Regions from separate parts of the Homo sapiens genome. Here regions 1 and 3 are each linked to region 2. The links are contacts of gene promoters, found by promoter capture Hi-C in blood cells and fetal thymus (Javierre and others, 2016). All regions are on one chromosome and are shown on one strand. The core of a region is centred on a gene start or on the middle of the fragment in contact, and the rest is flanking DNA. Distances in the headings are between cores, read along the strand shown.

Region 1 (2,700 bases), core at 190-2,689, 170 kb before region 2:
GCTGTTACTTGGAGTAGAGTCCATCACTATCATCACTCTCCATGTCCCATCTCCTTTTTTTCTGATTCTAAATCAAAGTAGGAGGAGAAAATACCTTGATCAGCAAACATTCTGAGCCAATTCATCCCTGCCCAAGGCCCTGTTTCCCTGCTGCCCTTAGGTTAGCAAAAACGTGAGCTTAGGGTCATAGGGTCAGGGTCTGAGAAAGACGGTGAGGGACAAGGGGAGACAGATAGGTAGATAGAGATAGATAGATAGATAGATAGATAGATAGATAGATAGATAGATAGATAGATAGAAAACAATGATTTACTTTTTCATTTCTTCCAGGGATCACTGAGCTGAGATGTCCTGAAAGGAAAAACTAACAGCACTGTCAGCCCCCTCCCAAGTGCCTAACCCTCAAGTATCCTTTTGGTTGTTTGCTGCCAGTCTATTTCTGTTGTGGTTCCAGCTCTGCAGGAAGCTGCTACCGGAGTCACCATGGGCCCACAGATCCCACTGACATGCCCAACAGAGCATTCTGGAGGCTCCAGTTGCTGCCACAGCTCTGGGGGCTGCTGTGGTCCTGGGTCATGAAGACTACAGAGTATCAGAGTTGGAGGAACCAGAGGACCAAGGACCTGCTCCCATCTGGAGCTTCTCTTCTTCTCTGCCATCTAGGGCTGAGCTACCAAAGTGTTTTCGGAAGGATCTGAACGGGCCCAGTAAGCTCATTCCCTTTGTTTTCCAGAGCTCTGTGTTTATTTCCAACTCATGCTTCTGTCCTTGACCTTGTGAAAGACTGCTCACCTCATTCCCACACTAATATACAACCCCCCTAAAAGGGTTTTGTGAGTTGAGGGGTGTATGACCCACTTGTGTCTGTTCCTAAGATAGGCCTATGTACCCAATGTGGGGCAGCCCCTGTAAGGCAAAGACGGGAACGCACTGGACAGAGCTTGCAACGAGAAAGCACAGCTTTATTCTTCACAGCACAGGGATATTAAAGAAGGAGGGAAAACACTAAGACCAGCAGGATAAATCCCCTGGGGGAGTACTTGAAACTCATCAAGGAACATCTCAGTAGGAAAGAGGAGACAGGAGCAAAGAAGCACCAGGCTAGGGCTGGTTCCAGTCATTTTGGCACTTTCTTTTCTCAAATATTTTTACTTAATCTCGTGGCTCAGGTCAGCAGCAGCCCGCAGAACTGTGGCCACAGCTGGAGCTCCCGCCTTGCTGACCACTTCCCCTGTCACAGGAGTTGGAGCTCTGGCAACGGCAACGGTGAGACCTGCGGCATCTGTGGTGACTCAGGCAGCAGCTGCGCTCGGAGCTGGGCCCACAGCCCCCAGAGCTTGGGGCACAGCTGGAGGAAGCTGGAGGCAGACACTGTGCTGGGCTCTTTGCAGGGCACTTGGGCGGAGGCTGGCACTGCTGCTGGTTCTGCTGGCAGGACATCTAGGCAGGAGGTCAGGGAGCCTGGGCAAAATAAAAGCAAAGCAAAATACGTGTCAATGCAGGTTTCAGGCCAGGGCCTCCTCATGCTTTGGTTTAATTGTGGATCCCTTCCCCTAAACTCAGTCTGCCCTCCAGCTAAGACCTGGGGAAGGGGAATGCAAACGGATCTGAAGTTAAACCGGCCTGATACTGCCCCTTCCTCCGGCCCTCTCCCCTGCCTGGGAGGCAGCTGACACTCCTGGGTGGGCCTCTGGGGCTCCTGCGCACGCCCTGCGGGGCCTGTCACACCTCCGGACCCGATGCGAACAGCTCCCCCTGCAGGCGTCCCGTGAACACAACGCCCATGACCCTCCAGGGTGGCGTCTCTCTGGACGCCTGTGAGCGCAGGGTGTGAGGAGGCAACGCATCTCTGCGCACATGAGGAAAAGGGGGTTCAGAGGTCGCAGCATCGCGGAGCCCCTGAAGTGGCTCGCAGACTTGTCTGTCTTCCTCACTATCCCGCCCATCTCCCATCCCAGTCCCAGCCGGCCACCCACCACAGCCTCTCTGCCGCCTCCACCGTGTCTGCCTCCTCCCCTCTCCTTGTTGAAGCACAGACGTGTTTGCGCAGCCCTTTCAGCCCAGGTCCTCTCGCCAGCTGGACGCTCACCTGGTTTGGTGGAGGCAGGAGAAGGTTCTTCCTGAGGTGATTGTGGACTGAGGAACCCAGGGCCTCAGCCCTTTTATCCTGGGTATTATGATGCACAGCCCAACTATGTGTCCTCCTTTGCTCCCCAAAGGGAGGGGAAGCACCACACACTCCCAAGGACCAGGCTTTCAGCATATTCTTAAGGCGCATATTTTGAGGAATGACAAAAGGGAAGCAGGAAATCTCGATGACGGTCCAATTATCCACCGTTCAGGCCCTCTGGCTGCTGTTCCACTTTTTTTTCTTCATTCAGCTCACATGCTCTGAAGCCAGGGTACGTCCTTTGTGGGGCCTGGTAATATGGGGACAAACAGAACACATTTCTCCCCTTGACTAGCTCACAGCTTTTCAGAAGGCCAGATGGACAACTGAGCAATTAAATCACATCCTATGTGCTAAGCGACGCAGCACAAGTGTGCACAAACATGGCAGGCTGGGGTCACTGCCTTTGGGTGTCAGTCCCCATTGCTTTGTGGATTCCTTTACATAGGTGATGGAATCAGCCCCTGTGTCCTGAGATGTTGGCTGCACTGAGCTCACTGGACCTGGGTTGAGTAAGGGGTGGAAGAATG
Region 2 (2,700 bases), core at 171-2,670:
TCCATTTTGACCTAGATATCATTCCCAAGTTCTGGGCATATCCAGAGTCTGTCAGGGGCTGGGAAGAAGAGGACTTGTCCCTCATATGGTTTAATCTGGCTTTTCTTGGTCTTCCTCTGAAGAAATAGTTTAATTTGTGGATAACCTTGCAGTCATGGCTGTCTTAGTGACTAGTGTGTCCTAGAATGAACAGCAGCCCATTTCATTAATATCCTAAAAATGTATAAATTCAGAACACTCCATTCATATAAATCCTGTGGACATGTAGAAAGCTAGTGATTCTAGTGGAGAGAGAGGAGAGGGGCTTCCAAAGTAGCAGCATAAACACATTCACATTAAATATTAAGGACTCTTGTTCTTAAAAGGCACCCGTCCCCTTATGGTCCAGGACGGGGTTCTGCCAGCCATTTGACCCCACATGGAAGCGTAGACTTATAATGTCTCACAACCATGTCTCTTTTCTTCCTGTTTCTCATCTGTGACCATCATCCGGTGCTCCCAGTGTGAACCCAGAAAAGTCCAAATTCTCACACCAATACAAAGAGCAGAGCTGCTGCTTCTTGTTTCTCTAATGAGCTGCTTCCTTGTTCACATCTCAGTGCTGACACATCAAGGACCCCACCAGAAGAAAAGGGCTATTTAAAAGCAAACAGATCACCAAACAGCCAGACTCACTCTCATTAGAAAAAAGCTGTGCTTCGTTTGTTAAACAAAGATCAGTATCTTCATTCTGTATTCAGCAAGTTATGAATGTTTCACTTATTCAGAGCCTACAATGTTTCAGTCTCTCTGTCAGGCACATTTTCTCTTTTTTGTGTTACTTTATTGACTTTCACAACCAACTAATTCTTCTGTAACTAATTCTTTTTCATCTTCCAGCTTTATGGTTTAAAAAATGGTACAGGCTAAATAGTTTCAACAGTCCCATCTCGCAGGGCCTGGTCCTGGGCCGGGTTATACTTCCAGGGTTTTACTTGTGTAGATGTCTACACTGCACCCACAGCCACACAGTTTGGTGGTGCACAGGGACAGAAATAAACATGCATGGAAACCTCAGGGATTAGTACTTCAACTTCAACCCAGGCTGCACGGAGCATCAGGTACTTCGGAAGAGACAGAAATGAGATAGGTCCTAAGTTCTAAGACTGAGAACTGAGAGGCTCTCAGGGCAAGCAGCCTTCAAGTGAATGAGGTAGGTGATGGTAGGAGTCATCCTGGAACCCCGTTTCAAGTAGGCACTTTCCTACCTGGGAGTGGCTGCCTTGAGCCTGGGGAGAGAGGCAGGTGAGGAGCTGTCAGTCACCAACCATCACAAGACCCACGTGGGTGTCAGAAGGAAGGTCCTCTCATGCCCAGGCCCTGTCTCACAGCTGGGGCAGAGCCCAGGCCAGGATAAAAGGGCTCAGGGCCAGACCACCCCATCCACTCACCTCCTGAGGTGCTAAAGAACCCTGTGCTGCCTGTGACTCCGGTAAGAACAGAGCAGGGATGCTCAGAACAGAGCAGGAGGGAAGGAGGGGCAGGGCCTCCGGGGCTAGGGCCATGTTGTCAGAGGTGGAGAGTTTAGAAAAGACTGAAGGGGCGGGGGCCAAAAGGGGTCTGGCACTAACTGGGAGCAGGAAGGAAAAGAGGAAAAGAGCTGGCGGGCTGTGCCATGTGCCTTTGAACTCTAGAGGAAACAAACTGCTCTGGGATGAGGTGGGTGTTCCAGAGTGGGAACTTTGAAGCACAGAGACCTGCTCCACTCTGGCAGCCCACAGGAGGGAAGCCCACCTCTGAAGATACAACCCTGTCTCTGCCTGCAAGGGAAGAACTGGAGCTGTGGACATGGGACTAAAGACTCTTTGGGGTTTATGAACCCCACATTTTCATGGGTCTGAGATTTGTTCACAAACTTCCCAGCTTGGTTAGGACACACCAAGCCTGAGACCCACCGTGTCATCCCATCAGCCTGAGCAGGTGGTGAGTGAGGAAGTCTGAGCTCCAACCTGAGATCAGGGGGTCAGGGTTCAAGTACTAGTCTGCAGAAACTGCTAAGTTTATCTGTCTCTATTGAAGTGAGTTTACTGACCTAGTAGTCTCCAAGATCCTGCACAATGCTGACCTTCCAAAGTAAAATCGTCTTGCAAATTATGACCAGAGAGAATGACTGCTTCTTCTCCTTTAAAAATAATTTTCTCTTAAATGACTCATAAATTAGACAATTTCAGTCTTAAGATATATTTGTAATAATTTCTTCCTCCACTGACAACACATCAGAATCTTAGATGCATTTTGCAATATTGTTTAGTCTTAGTTTACAGTTGTCTGACATCCAAAGATATCTTGAAAAAGATGATGTGAGATTTTGAGGAAATTATTGGAAATAAAACTACTGAAGATGATGCTTTTAAACTTGAGAGGTGCTAAGAGTGTCACAGGGGCAGAGGTGGCCTCTGCCTGGGTCTGACTTGTTATTTGACTCTCCCTCAGCTCCTGAACACCCACCACCGAGATGTCCTGCCAGCAGAGCCAGCAGCAGTGCCAGCCCCCTCCCAAGTGCACTCCCAAGTGCACTCCCAAGTGCCCCGCCCCTAAATGTCCCCCTAAGTGCCCTCCAGTCTCTTCCTGCTGCAGTGTCAGCTCCGGAGGCTGCTGTGGCTCCAGCTCTGGGGGCGGCTGTGGCTCCAACTCTGGGGGCTGCTGCAGCTCTGGGGGTGG
Region 3 (2,700 bases), core at 90-2,589, 210 kb after region 2:
GTGGCCGGTCAAACAAATGCTAGCAGAGAGGGAAGGACATGGGTGTGGAAGGGAGGGTAAGCCTCTTCTCCTTCATGAATTATCAGCTCACACCTCTTCTCAGCTCACACCAGGAGGCCTGGCACAGGACAGTGAATCATGCCCAAGAAACTGCCTTGTGGCTTCCTGCCTTCCTCCCTCCCTCCCTATCTTTCCTCTTTTCTTTTCTCTTTTCTTTTCTTTTCCTTTCCTTCCCCTCCCCTTCCTTTCTTCCTTCCTTTCTTTCTTTCTTTCCTTCTCTCTCTCTCTCTTTCTTTCTTTCTTTCCTTTCTTCTTTATCTATCTCTGTTTCTTTCTCACTTCCTTTCTCCCTTCCATGAACCTACAGCTCTATTCAGGAGAACAATGACTGTCCATTGACTTAACACCCATGATAACCAGGCACTGTGTGACGCTGAAGTAGAACAAGGGGCTTTCAGAACCTGGTGGAAGGAGCTGGGCATCAGGTTCAAGGGAGTAACACAGTCGTGGAACATTGGGAAAGGAGGAGCTATTCACATGCCTGAGATGTAAGGATGTCTGGATTTTCCAAGGGCCGCGTCTAGTAAGAGAGTGTGTATTGAGGGCAACTCTGAGTTAGTGACTTGAGGTTCATCCTGTAGTGATCAGAGGAAATGGCTGGTGTATGAACCTAGGGAATCAGCACGCTCCTCTTCCTATGTCACTCCTGGAGAAGAAAGATACCACAAGAGGCAGGGTCTTCAGGGCTGAGCCACAATGTCACACAGATCCAGTCAATCCTGCCTGTCCATCTCAATGACATCTACTATCCCTGATCAACACGGCACCTTAAGGCGCCCTTCACAGTGAAAGCAACTTATTTCCAAAGCAGGCATTTTGCCTTCCATTGCTCCTCCCAGGTCCAAATCCAGTAAGAGACTGAAAATCAGATGATTCACTTATTCTGCACCATCCCCATGGCCTCGCAGAACCAGAAATGCCTATTGTTATTTCCATGTCCACTTCAACCATGAGGAAGCCCAATAGGACTAATCTGGCTAAAGATTAGGGCCCAGGCCAAGAGGCCTGGCTCGTTCTAGTCCTAGGAGCATGGTACTTCCTCCTAATTTAATCCATTGCCATTCAAGAAGACCTTTGCCCACAGCAACCACACCACAAAGGGTGGACAGTGAGTCAGGCCCAGGTGACATCACTGTCAGAGCTTAAGTGACAAAAAATGTTAAGCCAGAGATACTTATCACAAAAGCTGGAATGAAGTTAGAGCAGTCTTTTAAAAAATCCAATTTTCTTAAGGCAGGGCTCATTTTCTATATAAATACCAGCTAACAAGAGACTCTTCACCAGATCCCAGAGGCTGAACACCTCGACCTTCTCTGCACAGCAGGTGAGTCTCCGCATTAGGAACACCTTAATATTCTCCAATAGTTTCTTTATTTTGATTGAGATCTCTTTGCTATGCAATGAATATATTTATTTTAAATGCAATAACGACTTTTGTTTAAGGTGACCTTATACATATTTTGACTTTCCACTCAGATTACAGGTGTGGAACTTAGGATCAGAAAAGGGGAGTGATTTCTGTAAAGGCTTGCTAAGTTAGCAAGACAATATACCCACTTCAAGAGCACTCTCCTGTCAACATGTATTGAAAATTTTTAATATAGAAGGCACTACATTGGCAATTTTGATGATCAAAAGATAAGTTTTTCTTTATTGCATGAATGTATAATCCATTAGAAAACATATACTTGACTAAAATTTGCAAACATACAGCATGGGGAGTGATTAGCAGAGAGGGAAAGCAAGTATCATGCTGTGGCAAAACGAGGAAGGTGAGAGCATCAGGAAGGACAGCCATGAGAGGTGGGCATGTGTGGGGAGGCAGCGATGATGTGGAGAGCCTGCCAGAGAGCATGTGCAGCAGGCACAGTGTGAACAGAGGCTCCCAGGTGGATTGTGGGAGCCTTAGGGGGAAGTTTAGATAAGAGTTCTCCTGGGAGAACTATCGCACTCTATAAGGAGGACATGAGTGAGTAGATTCTAGACTGCTGACCTTAAAATCTTTCCAACTTATGGAAAAACTGAGGTGTCACATCAATCTTCAGCCAATGACACACAGCCAAGAGTGGTATTAAAAGTGATTTAATCAGGGAAGAGCAAGAAACATGCATTTCTTTTCACTCAATTCCTCAGATGATCCCTGAGCAGCTGAAGACCAGAAAAGCCACTAAGACTTTCTGCTTAATTCAGGAGCTTAGAGGATTCTTCAAAGAGTGTGTAAGCGAAAGCTTCAGAGTATATATTTGCATATTTGTATGTGTTTTCATGTTGTACGTAGGTTTTTAGATGTACCAGGAAGAAAAGAAGCATAAAGAAAGGCTCCATTTACACGATGTGGAAGAAATCAACTTTACCTTATTCTCTGGAAGATAAGTGGGGATCACCAAAGCATCCCATGATCTCAAATTCAGGGAAAAAGAAAGAAAAGAGAGGCTCTCAGTTCTGAAGGAGAATGAAATGACAGATATTTGTCATTAAACTGGGCTTCATTCCTACTTAATCAAAGCACTGAATTAGCTGTTTTGTCTCTAGGTCCAGCATCCTTTGAAGCATGAGTTCTTACCAGCAGAAGCAGACCTTTACCCCACCACCTCAGCTTCAACAGCAGCAGGTGAAACAACCCAGCCAGCCTCCACCTCA

What was found. Contacts are between HindIII fragments. The CHiCAGO score rates a contact against its expected background, and 5 or more counts as called.
Region 1: the fragment with the promoter of LCE3A here is called in contact with the fragment with the promoter of LCE1D in region 2 in 6 of 17 cell types (M2 macrophages, total CD4 T cells, fetal thymus and 3 more); the score reaches 12.7 in M2 macrophages.
Region 3: the fragment with the promoter of SPRR3 here is called in contact with the fragment with the promoter of LCE1D in region 2 in 4 of 17 cell types (erythroblasts, total CD4 T cells, M1 macrophages and 1 more); the score reaches 10.9 in erythroblasts.

Annotation. Positions count from the first base shown.
Region 1 is chr1:152,621,664-152,624,363 of GRCh38, forward strand. LCE3A (late cornified envelope 3A) reads right to left here and starts at 1,440. Exons shown (of 1, transcript NM_178431.1): 1 at 1,171-1,440. The coding sequence starts at 1,440. The coding sequence ends at 1,171. The HindIII fragment of the contact is 6,916 bases long and covers 1-2,700 here.
Region 2 is chr1:152,795,301-152,798,000 of GRCh38, forward strand. It overlaps LCE1D (late cornified envelope 1D), which reads left to right and starts at 1,421. Exons shown (of 2, transcript NM_178352.3): 1 at 1,421-1,471; 2 at 2,473-2,700. The coding sequence starts at 2,495. The HindIII fragment of the contact is 8,213 bases long and covers 1-2,700 here.
Region 3 is chr1:153,000,410-153,003,109 of GRCh38, forward strand. It overlaps SPRR3 (small proline rich protein 3), which reads left to right and starts at 1,340. Exons shown (of 2, transcript NM_001097589.2): 1 at 1,340-1,384; 2 at 2,593-2,700. The coding sequence starts at 2,612. The HindIII fragment of the contact is 2,627 bases long and covers 1-2,286 here.